2 separate regions of the Homo sapiens genome follow, and region 2 is linked to region 1. The links are contacts of gene promoters, found by promoter capture Hi-C in human tissues and cell types (Jung and others, 2019). All regions are on one chromosome and are shown on one strand. The core of a region is centred on a gene start or on the middle of the fragment in contact, and the rest is flanking DNA. Distances in the headings are between cores, read along the strand shown.

Region 1 (6,892 bases), core at 724-3,223:
TCTATGGCTTCTGAAATATATGAGAACAAAACAATTTGTGCTAGAACTTTTTCTGGATGTGCGTAAGTCCACACTCTATGCATTGCTGGATTTCAGTCTTAATAGGTAATTAATTGTGTGACATCATCATTGTGTACCCTCTGAGTAACTCTAAAGAAATATGTTTGTTCTTTAGGAAACCTATTAAATATCCCATAGTGCAACGTTAGAAATGACCTCTGGAACTGACTGCAGAAACTGCACAGCAGTTAGTAGAGCTTGGTGTTCCGACGCAGATCTGGTGAGAGGCCTGCGCAGGAAGAGACTCGACATGGAGCAGGTGTGACTAGCGATAGTGATTTAATGGATTTGGGCCCGACATGGTGGCTCACGCCTGTAATCCCAGCACTTTGGGAGGCTGAGGCCGGCGAATCTCTTAAGCCCAGGAGTTTGAAACCAGCCTGGACAATATTGTGAGATCCCATCTCAATTTTTTTTTTGAGATGGAGTCTCGCTCTGTCGCCCAGGCTGGAGTGCAATGGAACGATCTCGGCTCACTGCAACCTCCGCCTCCCGGGTTCAAGCGATTCTCCTGCCTCAGCCTCCCGAGTAGCTGGGATTACAGGCGCACGCCACTACGCTTGGCTAATTTTTGTATTTTTAGTAGAAATGGGGTTTCACCATGTTGACCAGGCTGGTTTCAAACTCCTGACCTCAAGTGATCCGCCCACCTCAGCCTCCCAAAATGCTGGGATTACCGGCATGAGCCACTGTGCTCGGCTGAAAAAAACCATATTTTTAATTTAAAATAATAAATGGGTCTGACCAGAAATGCCTGCCTCAAATTGCAGGACACATGACAAAGCCCATTCTTACTTAAGACATTTTCAGTGTGCGATGGGTCTACCGGGATGTAACCCCATCGTGAGTCGAGGCCCATCTGCACCCTGCTATAGCTACTGGTAGATCTTACCTGTTTCCCAAAAAGGACCCAACTACTTTAGGTTCAAGGCACTTTTTTGGAATATTTAACAGGGAAAGAGCCTGGAACTAAAAACAGGTCTAACGCAAGATGCCGCCACACGATGGCACTGCTTCCGTAGACCTGGAAGAAACGCGGGCGCGGGAGCTGGCGGCGGACGCCCGGGTCTGCGGGGTCGGGGAGTAGCGTCCGGCCGGAGAGCCCGCACCTCGAGGAGCCGGCGGAGGACGCGGTGTCGTGACCGCGTCTCCCCCATCTGCTCTGCTTTTGGCGACAGCGTCCCGTCGGCCTTTCGGCCAGGACGCAGCAGCCGCGTCTCTGGGCCTCGACCCCCAGGGCCGGCCGGACCCGGGACCTCCGAGGAGAGCAGCGAGAACCGGCCCGGATTCCCCGAGGCGCCCGAGTGCGGTGCGGGCAGCCCTCCCCGCCTGCCAGGCCGCCGCTGTCCCCACGTCTGGTCCCCCACGCCTCTTCCCGCATCTGGTCCCACGGTGGAGGCGCGGGGCGAGGGCCTCACGCGCGTGCCCACGGTCGGGGGGCGTCCTTGGACGCGCGGGTCCTCTCCCACGGGTCTCCACCCCCCGCCCTCCGGCGACAGGAGCCGGCCTGGGACGCGCGCGCTGCGGCCAAGTCCTGGTTTTGATTTCACTCCCAACCCCGAGGAGCGAGGAGGTTCCAAGCCCACAAACAGGAAGAAGAGAAGGCCCTGGAGTGCTGGCAGAGGGAGTGTCATTCCCAGCAGCGCAGCGCAGGCCGGCCCGGGCCGGGGAGGGAGCAGCAGCGCGGGCACCCTCCTGCAACGTGGGCTGGGGGTCCCCAGGGCCGGGGAGGGGGCCCCGGGGAGGAACTGAGAGGGGGCGCGCCCCGGGAAGGCTCGGGGCGGCTCCGGGGGGCTCCCAGGGCGCCCCCGCCCCTTCCCCCGCGGCCCCGGGGCGCCCCCGCGGTGCCGGAGTCGGGGCGGGGCGTGCACGTCAGCCGGGGCTAGAAAAGGCGGCGGGGCTGGGCCCAGCGAGGTGACAGCCTCGCTTGGACGCAGAGCCCGGCCCGACGCCGCCATGAGCGCCGCGCTCTTCAGCCTGGACGGCCCGGCGCGCGGCGCGCCCTGGCCTGCGGAGCCTGCGCCCTTCTACGAACCGGGCCGGGCGGGCAAGCCGGGCCGCGGGGCCGAGCCAGGGGCCCTAGGCGAGCCAGGCGCCGCCGCCCCCGCCATGTACGACGACGAGAGCGCCATCGACTTCAGCGCCTACATCGACTCCATGGCCGCCGTGCCCACCCTGGAGCTGTGCCACGACGAGCTCTTCGCCGACCTCTTCAACAGCAATCACAAGGCGGGCGGCGCGGGGCCCCTGGAGCTTCTTCCCGGCGGCCCCGCGCGCCCCTTGGGCCCGGGCCCTGCCGCTCCCCGCCTGCTCAAGCGCGAGCCCGACTGGGGCGACGGCGACGCGCCCGGCTCGCTGTTGCCCGCGCAGGTGGCCGCGTGCGCACAGACCGTGGTGAGCTTGGCGGCCGCAGGGCAGCCCACCCCGCCCACGTCGCCGGAGCCGCCGCGCAGCAGCCCCAGGCAGACCCCCGCGCCCGGCCCCGCCCGGGAGAAGAGCGCCGGCAAGAGGGGCCCGGACCGCGGCAGCCCCGAGTACCGGCAGCGGCGCGAGCGCAACAACATCGCCGTGCGCAAGAGCCGCGACAAGGCCAAGCGGCGCAACCAGGAGATGCAGCAGAAGTTGGTGGAGCTGTCGGCTGAGAACGAGAAGCTGCACCAGCGCGTGGAGCAGCTCACGCGGGACCTGGCCGGCCTCCGGCAGTTCTTCAAGCAGCTGCCCAGCCCGCCCTTCCTGCCGGCCGCCGGGACAGCAGACTGCCGGTAACGCGCGGCCGGGGCGGGAGAGACTCAGCAACGACCCATACCTCAGACCCGACGGCCCGGAGCGGAGCGCGCCCTGCCCTGGCGCAGCCAGAGCCGCCGGGTGCCCGCTGCAGTTTCTTGGGACATAGGAGCGCAAAGAAGCTACAGCCTGGACTTACCACCACTAAACTGCGAGAGAAGCTAAACGTGTTTATTTTCCCTTAAATTATTTTTGTAATGGTAGCTTTTTCTACATCTTACTCCTGTTGATGCAGCTAAGGTACATTTGTAAAAAGAAAAAAAACCAGACTTTTCAGACAAACCCTTTGTATTGTAGATAAGAGGAAAAGACTGAGCATGCTCACTTTTTTATATTAATTTTTACAGTATTTGTAAGAATAAAGCAGCATTTGAAATCGCCCCTGCTTCCTATATTCGCAGTGACTCCCGCCCGCCCGCCGGTGGCGCAGGACCCGGCTCGGGAAGGGTGCGTTCCGGACCCGCAGCCAGCGAGCACCAGGGAGCCCGGGCGCCAGGTGTGTGTGTGGGGGGGGCGGGGGGATGGGGCGCAGGCCCGAGCTACTCAGGAGAGAGGGTCTGTCGCTTTTAAAACGCATTAAAGGCTCTCTCCTGGCCTTATTTAACTTGCCTAAGCTAGGTGGAGCACGGCTGAGCTCAGGTAAGCTAGCAGCTTTCCAGCAGAAGGTGTTCTCCCGAAGAACGCAGACCTGGGGAAGGGTTGACTTTTTGGGGGCCCCTGCTGAGAACAGTTCAAGAGCTCCCTAACTGTAGAGGCTGCTGGAGGGGCGAGGGGCAGAACCCCGGGCTGAATCATCTCCCGCTTTCCCGGGACTTTGCTTTCACTTTCCTCAGTCTTGTGGACAGAGTCAAGTAGATTTTCAAAAGTGCTCCAGAAAGGCCGGAATAGTCATGTAGTGGATGAAAAGGGCAGTCACAAAACTGCTTAAGACCAGCTGTCTTGCCAGTAATTGCAGTGCTTTAAGATTTAATTAAAAAGCCGCCTGCCTTTAACCCAAGAACACTTGGTATTAGGGCACCATGTCTTGGTCACGGCTGCTACGTGTATCTGATGTAGTTAACCATGGCCTGTCATGATTATATTGCTATAAGGAAGGGAACAAAATCTTTATAGTGTCCAAAGATAATTAATTCTTGGTTTAAATCTTTGCCAGCAAAGCAAATATCCGACTGACTGCTCCTTAGTCTGTGATCTTTGCTCTCCGTGCACATTACCCAGCCTAATTAAAACAGGTGTGTGTGGTGGAGCCAGCTATCCCCACCACCATTCAGCAGAGACACGATCACACCAGTTCAGAGAGCTACACTTTATGGGTAACAGTTTCACCTGTGATACAGTTCCCTAGAACATTTTCCCAAAAGTAGTGAACTGCAAAGTGCTTAGGTTTGACATTTATTGTAGCAGAACAGTAATATCACAGTATGGGACAAAGGTTTACACTTTGCAGGGTATTCTTTGGGGGAATGTTAAATACTGTAATAAAAACATGTTCAATCATGGTAAAATGTTCAACTTGTTAAAATTACAAATGAACAAAAAAAATTTTTTTCTCATATATTGCCTAAATACCAAATGAAGAGCTTAAACTTAAGATTCAATGTGAAAACGAGTAAATATGTTCCTAAATTTGCAGAAAATAAAAGATAAACTGTAGAAAAAGGTATTTTGATTTACAGTTCACAAAACTGTATCTGAACATTTCCCCAGAAAAATCTAAGTTTCATTTCAAGATCGTAAACTACGTTCACTGTGTCCATAGTTAACAAATAACTACCCCAAATCACCACCACCACCACCACCCTTGCAGCCACATTGCAAAGTTCACAGATCCTGCGGCAACCGCTAGTGTTCTGCAGAGGCCCCTCCTGCACTCAGAAGCTCGATTTCCTCCAATCCAATGCAGCTGGTCGGGTGGGCGGTTACGGACTGGACAAAACAATTTAACAACCCCACTTCCTTTCCGAGGACACTCTTCACTTCGTAGCTCTGCAGTGATAAAAGGCACGCTGGTTAAAGCAAACAGCCTGGGACGTACTGTTCCCAACAACACGGAAAACCAGAGAGCCAGAGTGGAAGGCCCTTTCCCCAGTCCACGACCTTCCACTCCTCAAATGGCTGAGAACAGTGGTAGGAAGGAGAAACAAATGAAGAGCCACTACACACACACACACACACACACACCCACACACACACACACCCACACACCCATTTATTTTAGCAAGTGAAGGAACTACCCCATTCTGGTAACTGAATTGTTTTTACTTGGGACACGATGCACACAGACTCTGCTGGGAAGGCCGGGGCTGGGCACACAGTGCCCACAGCTGTCTCCCACTTCCTTTAGGACACTTCCTCAATCTAGCAACACTTCCGGTTGAGGGATTTCCTGGTGCTTTGCCCCAAACTTCCTTCCTTAATAGGATTCCATTTCTTCTAGAGTTATACTGGGCTAAAATCCTCTGTGTTTTTGTAATGAGACTTCGCTTTTTCTTCTAATTCTTTTTGGTTAGTCCCAGGTGAGTTTCGTCTCCAGATGAGACAGGTACAGGGAGTCCTTGGCCCCCATCCCTGACCAGGCTGAGAGGGTGTGGTGCACCCCATTATAGATCAAGCTGCAGAATGCTGTTGCGGGTAGGGCTGAAAATAAAGGCTCAGAAGCACTGAGATATTCCATCTCTGGCTTTCTGGGAGATTAAAGCCCTAGAAGGCAATGTCACTTGCAGAGTAATATCATGGGCACCCCACACTCCTCCTCTGTGCAAGGCATTTGGCAGTTGCTACAGCAGTTCTGTTTGGTGTCTATTAACTCACCCCTCCCATCGTTATGGTGTCATGGCCAAAGAGACTGAGGCTGGAGAAGCCAGACAACGTGGCCAAAGCAGGTAGAATGTGGCTCCTTGGTGCCCTTCCCTTCAAAGGTGTGAGTCTCACTGCCTTTCCCTGAGTTTGAGCTGGCCTCAGTGTCTGGCTTCTCATGAACACAGTGCGGTGGAAGGGACACCAAGTGATGTTCCACGCCTGGTCAGGAAAGGTGCCCAGCTTCCAGCTGGCCCGTGGGATCCACACACATGCTGTGAGGGGGTCCGGCCAGAGCTGTGGCCTGGACGTAGGAGCCTTCTGTGACTCCCACCGGCCTTGGGGGCACCCGCTAATGCCCAGTGGAGCTATCCGGATGAAGCCCTGTCCAAACAAGAGTTCTGTGCACAGAATGAATATTGATGCCACCAAGTTTTGAGATGGTTTGTTTTGTAAAAATAAATGTCAGGATCAGTCTGGGATGTGAACGCTACTGACGCCAACTCGTGGGGGGACTTTGATTTTCCCATTTGTAAGACAGGCGTGGTGCCTATTCAGTGTGCTCTGTCAAGAGTTTTGGCTTCCTTGGTGAAAAAGAATAAAGTCAACAGGATGGTTTAATGTAGTGATGGGGGAAGTGGGTGTCACTGGTCAAGACAGGCAAAGAGAAGGAACTTGGTAATGGAAGCTGAGGCCTTCCCAAGGGCTCTGAGGTGGCATGGACGGCAAGTGCAGCTGCTCACTCGCTCACACATGGGGTTTATTATGATCCCATGTGGGCCCGTCACTGAAGAGATGGCAGTGAGCAGGACAGTCTCCAGGCTGCTGGACTGGAGGGGACACCAGGGGATACAGAAGCAGAAGCAGGGTCACCGCACGGGGAGGGAGGGTGGAGGCGGCATATGCGCTGGACACCCTTCTGGTGTCTTAGAGTTTCAGTTAGTCTTGCATGTTTGTGCAAGTGTGAAACAGATGACCCTATGGTCTTCTGGAGTAAAAGTATGCAATTCTGACTTGGAAAAAGCCAGCAAAAAATCATTTATTTGTAAAATGTTAGGTTTGGCTATATTATCCTGTAAATGGAGTTTAAAATTTTTTATTACTTTTTTTGAGACTGAGTCTTGCTCTGTCACCCAGGCTGGAATGGAGTGGTGTGAGCTTGGCTCACTGCAACCTCTGCCTCCTGGGTTCAAGCAGTTCTCCTGCCTCAGCCTTCCAAGTAGCTGGGATTACAGGTGCGCACCACCATGCC
Region 2 (6,892 bases), core at 3,038-5,537, 190 kb after region 1:
TGGAGTAAGAACTCACATTCACAGAGTGGCTTGATACCCATCCCCTCGAGAATGTCTCACTGGCCATTGAGAGGATACAGGCCATGTATTCAGAAAATCACAGGTCTCCCTTCACAAAGAAGCCACATCATACAGTGCAAAGAATACACATACCCCACTCCTAGCTCCAACTATTAGCACCTCCATCAAAATGGAATATACACAGGAAGGAACATGAGTTCCATTACACTTCAGCTGTTAACACTATAGATTTTTAAAAAATTACTGCTTCTATTGCTCAATTTTTGAGGAACCAAATTAAAAGTTACTAGATTATATTATTATACACAAGTATCTATCTCCCAGTTTCTTCTGTAGAACGTGTCTATTTCCCCAGTGAGATTTTAGTGATGCAAGGGACTGGAGTTGACTCTTCTATTTATTGAATCTCTACAGTATGCAACAAGTACTAGGCACATCCTAGGCACCAAGAGATACATACTGGAATGAATATTTCTCAATTCTTTGAGAAAGTCATTCTTATCTTGGAATTGTTATTTTATAGAAATAAAGTGGCATGGCTGGATTCATTTCTAACATATTCTAATTGCTTTATTTCTAGGAGTCCATATACAGCTTCTAAAATCTACCCTTTGGGAAAGTCAAATAATGATCATAAGTACAGAGTGGGAGGAAGGCTAGCAAAACAGAGACAGAAGACAGAATAGAAAGGAACAGATTATACCACTTTATACCACTTGTTTACTCATAAGTACTCTAGGTTAGATCAAGACTAAGATTTAGGAAAAAAAATTTGCTATTAATTTCTAGACCAAGAACTGGAAGCATAAAAGTCTGGTATTTCCAAATGATCAAACTTACAGGCCACCTGCTTTTGAAAATTTAACTGTGCAATATGTATTTAAACACAAAGAAGAGAGGAGGTTCCAAGATGGCTGAATAGGAACAGCTCCAGTCTACAGCTCCAAGCGTGAATGACGCAGAAGACAGGTGATTTCTGCATTTCCAACTGAGTTACAGGGTTCATATCACTGGGGCTTGTCGGACAGTGGGTGCAGCCCACAAAGTGTGAGCCGAAGCAGGGTGGGGCACTGCCTCACCCGGGAAGCGCAAGGGGTCGGGGAATTCCCTTTCCTAGGAAGGGAAGCCGTGACAGACAGTACCTAGAAAATCGGGACACTACCACCCTAATACTGCACTTTTCCAAATGGTCTTAGCAAATGGCACACCAGGAGATTATATCCCGCGCATGGCTCAGAGGGTTCCATGCCCACGGAGCCTAGCTCAATGCTAGCACAGCAGTCTGAGATCGAACTGCAAGGCGACAGCGAGGCTGGGGGAGGGACGTCTGCCATTGCTGAGGCTTGAGTAGGTAAACAAAGTGCCGGGAAGTTCAAACTGGGTGGAGCCTATCACAGCTCAAGGAGGCCTGCCTGCTTATGCAGATTCCACCTCTGGGGGCAGGGCATAGCTGAACAAAAGGCAGCAGCCAATTTCTGCAGACTTAAACGTACCTGTCTGACAGCTTTGAAGAGAGTAGTGGTTCTCCCAGCACGGAGTTTGAGATCTGAGAACGGACAGACTGCCTCCTCAAGTGGGTCCCTGACCCTCGAGTAGCCTAACTGGGAGACACCTCCCAGTAGGGGCAGACTGAAACCTCATATAGCCAGGTGCCCCACTGAGACGAAGATCTGAGAGGAAGGATCAGGCAGCAACATTTGCCGTTCTGCAGTATTTGCTGTTCTGCAGCCTCTGCTGATGATACCAAGGCAAATAGGGTCTGGAGTGGACCTCCAGCAAACTCCAACAGACCTGCAGCTGAGGGTCCTGATTGTTGGAAGGAAAACAAACAAACAGGAAGGACATCCACACCAAAACCCCATCGGTACATCACCATCATCAAAGACCAAAGTAGTTAAAACCACAAAGATGGGGAGAAACCAAAGCAGAATAGCTGAAAATTCTAAAAATCAGAGTGCCTCTTCTCCTCCAAAGGAAGACAGTTCCTTGCCAGCAACAGAGCAAAGCTGGACAGAGAATGACTTTGACAAACTGAGAGAAGAAGGCTTCAGATGATCGTAACAACAAACTTCTCCGAGCTAAAGGAGGATGTTCGAACCCATCGCAAAGAAGCTAAAAAACTTGAAAAAAGATTAGACGAATGGCTAACTAGAATAAAGAGTGTAGAGAAGACCTTACATGATCTGATGGAGCTGAAAACCATGGCATGAGAACTACGTGATGCACACACAAGCTTCAGAAGCTGATTCAATCAACTGGAAGAAAGGGTATCAGTGATTGAAGACCAAATGAATGAAATGAAGCAAGAAGAGAAGTTTAGAGAAAAAAGAGTAAAAAGAAACGAACAATGCCTCCAAAAAATATGGGACTATGTGAAAAGACCAAATCTATGTCTGATTGGTGTACCTGAAAGTGACGGGGAGAATGGAACCAAGTTGGAAAACACTCTTCAGGATATTATCCAGGAGAACTTCCCCAACATTCAAATTCAGGAAATACAGAGAATGCCACAAAGACACTCCTCGAGAAGAGCAACCCCAAGACACATAATTGTCAGATTCACCAAGGTTGAAATGGAAGAAAAAATGTTAAGGGCAGCCAGAGAGAAAGGTCGAGTTACCCACAAAGGGAAGCCCATCAGACTAACAGCGGATCTCTTGGCAGACACTCCACAAGCCAGAAGAGAGTGGGGGCCGATATTCAACATTCTTAAAGAAAAGAATTTTCAACCCAGAATTTCATACCCAGCCAAACTAAGCTTCATAAATGAAGGAGAAACAAAATCCTTTACAGACAAACAAATGTTGAGAGATTTTTGTCACCACCAGGCCTGCCATGCAAGAGCTCCTGAAGGAAGCACTAAACATGGAAAGGAACAACTGGTACCAGCCACTGCAAAAACATGCCAAATTGTAAAGACCATCAATGCTAGGAAGAAACTGCATCAACTAATGAGCAAAATAACCAGCTAACATCAAAATGACAGCACCAAATTCATACATAACAATATTAACCTTAAATGTAAATGGGCTAAATGCTCCAATTAAAAGACACAGACTGGCAAATTGGATAAAGAGTCAAGACACATCAGTGTGCTGTGTTCAGGAGACCCATCTCACATGCAGAGACACAAATAGGCTCAAAACAAAGGGATGGAGGAAGATCTACCAAGCAAATGGAAAACAAAAAAAAAGCAGGGGTTGCAATCCTAGTCTCTAATAAAACAACAAAGATCAAAAGAGACAAAGAAGGCCATTACATAATGGTAAAGGGATCAATTCAACAAGAAGAGCTAACTATCTTAAATATATATGCACCCAATACAGGAGCACCCAGATTCATAAAGGAAGTACTTAGAGACCTATAAAGAGACTTAGACTCCCACACAATAATAATGGGAGACTTTAACACCCCACTGTAAATATTAGACAGATCAACGTGACAGAAAGTAAACAAGGATATCCAGGTCTTGAACTCAGCTCTGCACCTAGCAGACCTAATAGACATCTACAGAACTCTCCACCCAAAATCAACAGATTATATATTCTTCTCAGCACCACATCGCACTTATTCCAAAATTGACCACATAGTTGGAAGTAAAGCACTCCTCAGCAAATGTAAAAGAACAAAAATTGTAACAAACTGTCTCTCAGACCACAGTGCAATCAAACTAGAACTCAGGATTAAGAAACTCACTCAAAACCACTCTACTACATGGGAACTGAACAACCTGCTCCTGAATGACTACTGGGTACATAACGAAATGAAGGCAGAAATAAAGATGTTCTCTGAAACCAATGAGAACAAAGGCACAACCTAACAGAATCTCTGGGACACATTCAAAGCAGTGTGTAGAGGGAAACTTACAGCATTAAATGCCCATAAAAGAAAGCAGGAAAGTTCTAAAATTGACACCCTAACATCACAATTAAAAGAACTAGAGAAGCAAGAGCAAAAAAATTCAAAAGCTAGCAGAAGGCAAGAAATAACTAAGATCTGAGCAGAACTGAAGGAGATAGAGACACAAAAAACCCTTCAAAAAATTAATGAATCCAGGAGCTGGTTTTTTGAAATGATCGACAAAATTGATAGACCGCTAGCAAGACTGATAAAGAAGAAAAGAGAGAAGAATCAGATAGACGTAATAAAAAATAATAAAAAGGATATCACCACCGATCCCACAGAAATACAAACTATCATCAGAGAATACTATAAACACCTCTACACAAATAAACTAGAAAATCTAGAAGAAATGGATACATTCCTGGACACATACACCCTCCCAAGACTAAACCAGGAAGAAGTTGAATCTCTCAATAGACTGATAACAGGCTCTGAAATTGAGGCAATAATTAATAGTCTACCAACCAAAAAAAGTTCAGGACCAGATGGATTCACAGCCAAATTCCACCAGAGGAACAAAGAGGAGCTGGTACCATTGGTTCTGAAACTATTCACATCAATAGAAAAAGAGGGAATCCTCCCTAACTCATATTATGAGGCCAGCATCATCCTGATACCAAAGCCTGGCAGAGACACAACAAAAAAGGAGAATTTTAGACCAATATCCCTGATGAACATCCATGTGAAAATCCTCAATAAAATACTGGCAAACCAAATCCAGCAGCACATCAAAAAGCTTATCCACCACGAGCAAGTTGGCTTCATCCCTGGGATGCAAGGCTGGTTCAACATACGCAAATCAATAAATGTAATCCATCACATTAAACAAAACCAAAGACAAAAACCACATGATTATCTCAATAGATGCAGAAAAGGCCTTTGACAAAATTCAACAACGCTTCATGCTAAAAACTCTCAATAAATTAGGTACTGATGGAACATATCTCAAAATAATAAGAGCTATTTATGACAAACCCACAGCCAATATCATACTGAATGGGCAAAAGCTGGAAGCATTCCTTTTGAAAACCGGCACAAGACAGGGATGCCCTCCTTCACGACTTCTATTCAATATAGTGTTGGAAGTTCTGGCCAGGGCAATCAGGAAAGAGAAAGAAATAAAGGGTATTCAATTAGGAAATGAGGAAGTCAAATTGTTCCTGTTTGCAGATGCCATGATTGTATATTTAGAAAACCCCATTGTCTCAGCCCCAAAGATCCTTAAGCTGATAAGCAACTGCAGCAAAGTCTCAGGATACAAAATCAATGTGCAAAAATCACAAGCATTCCTATATACACCAATAACAGACAAAGGGAGAGCCAAATCATGAGTGAACTGCCATTCACAACTGCTTCAAAGAGAATAAAAAACCTAGGAATCCAACTTACTAGGGATGTGAAGGACCTCTTCAGGGAGAACTACAAACCACTACTCAATGAAATAAAAGAGGACACAAACAAATGGAAGAACATTCCATGCTCATGGATAGGAAGAATCAATATCGTGAAAATGGCCATACTGCCCAAGGTAATTTATAGATTCAATGCCATCCGCATCAAGCTACCAATGACTTTCTTCACAGAATTGGAAAAAACTACTTTAAAGTTCATATGGAACCAAAAAGGAGCCTGCATAGCAAAGACAATCCTAAGCAAAATCACCAAAGCTGGAGGTATCACACTACTTGACTTTAAACTATACTACAAGGCTACAGTAACAAAAACAGGATGGTACTGGTACCAAAACAGAGATACAGACCAATGGAATAGAACAGAGCCCTCAGAAATAATACCACACATCTACAACCACCTGATCTTTGACAAATCTGACAAAAACAAGAAATGGGGAAAGGATTCCCTATTTAATAAATGGTGCTGGGAAAACTGGCTAGCCATATGTAGAAAGCTGAAACTGGATCCCTTCTTTACACCTTATACAAAAATTAATTCAAGATGGATTAAAGACTTAAATGTTAGACCTAAAACCATAAAAACCCTAGAAGAAAACCTAGGCAATACCATTCAGGACATAGGCATGGGCAAGGACTCCATGACTAAAACACCCAAAGCAATGGCAACGAAAGCCAAAATTGACAAATGGGGTCTAATTAAACTAAAGAGCTTCTGCACGGCAAAAGAAACTACCATCAGAGTGAACAGGCAACCTACAGAATAGGAGAACATTTTTGCAATCTACTCATCTGAAAAAGGGCTAATATCCAGAATCTACAAAGAACTCAAACAAATTTACAAGAAAAAACAACCCCATCAAAAAGTGGGTGAAGGATATGAACAGACACTTCTCAAGGGAAGACATTTATGCAGCCAACAGACATATGAAAACATGCTCATCATCACTGGCCATCAGAGAAATGCAAATCAAAACCACAATGAGATAGTATCTCACACCAGTTAGAATGGCAATCATTAAAAAGTCAGGAAACAACAGGTGCTGGACAGGATGTGCAGAAATAGGAACACTTTTACACTGTTGGTGGGACTGTAAACTAGTTCAACTATTGTGGAAGAGAGTGTGACGACTCCTCTAGGATCTAGAACTAGAAATACCATTTGACCCAACGAGCCCATTACTGGGTATATACCCAAAGGATTATAAATCATGCTGCTATAAAGACACATGCACACATATGTTTATTGCAGCAATATTCACAATAGCAAAGACTTGGAACCAACCCAAATGTCCATCAATGATAGACTGGATTAAGAAAATTGGCACATATACACCATGGAATACTATGCAGCCATAAGAAAGGATGAGTTCATGTCCTTTGTTAGGGACATGGATGAAGCTGGAAACCATCATTCTGAGCAAACTATCACAAGGACAGAAAACCAAACACCGCATGTTCTCACTTATAGGTGGGAAGTGAACCATGAGAACACTTACACACAGGGTGGGGAACATCACACACTGGGACATGTCATGGGGTAGGGGGAGAAGGGAGGG

Evidence for each region. Contacts are between HindIII fragments. The study calls those that stand out against the background at their distance.
Region 2: a contact is called between a fragment that was not itself captured here and the fragment with the promoter of CEBPD in region 1, in 4 of the 25 tissues and cell types used here (adrenal gland, aorta, dorsolateral prefrontal cortex and 1 more).

The regions. Positions count from the first base shown.
Region 1 is chr8:47,733,245-47,740,136 of GRCh38, reverse strand. CEBPD (CCAAT enhancer binding protein delta) reads left to right here and starts at 1,973. Exons shown (of 1, transcript NM_005195.4): 1 at 1,973-3,224. The coding sequence starts at 2,017. The coding sequence ends at 2,826. SPIDR (scaffold protein involved in DNA repair) reads right to left here. Exons shown (of 20, transcript NM_001080394.4): 20 at 3,831-4,830. The coding sequence ends at 4,687. RefSeq lists silencers at 1,145-1,614, 1,705-1,784, 1,825-1,934, 2,425-2,614 and an enhancer at 2,011-2,949. The HindIII fragment of the contact is 24,041 bases long and covers 1-6,892 here.
Region 2 is chr8:47,548,910-47,555,801 of GRCh38, reverse strand. All of the region lies in intron 8 of SPIDR (scaffold protein involved in DNA repair), which reads right to left. Among named protein-coding and RNA genes, the nearest start is that of CEBPD, 190 kb to the left of the region's middle. The HindIII fragment of the contact is 3,540 bases long and covers 2,518-6,057 here.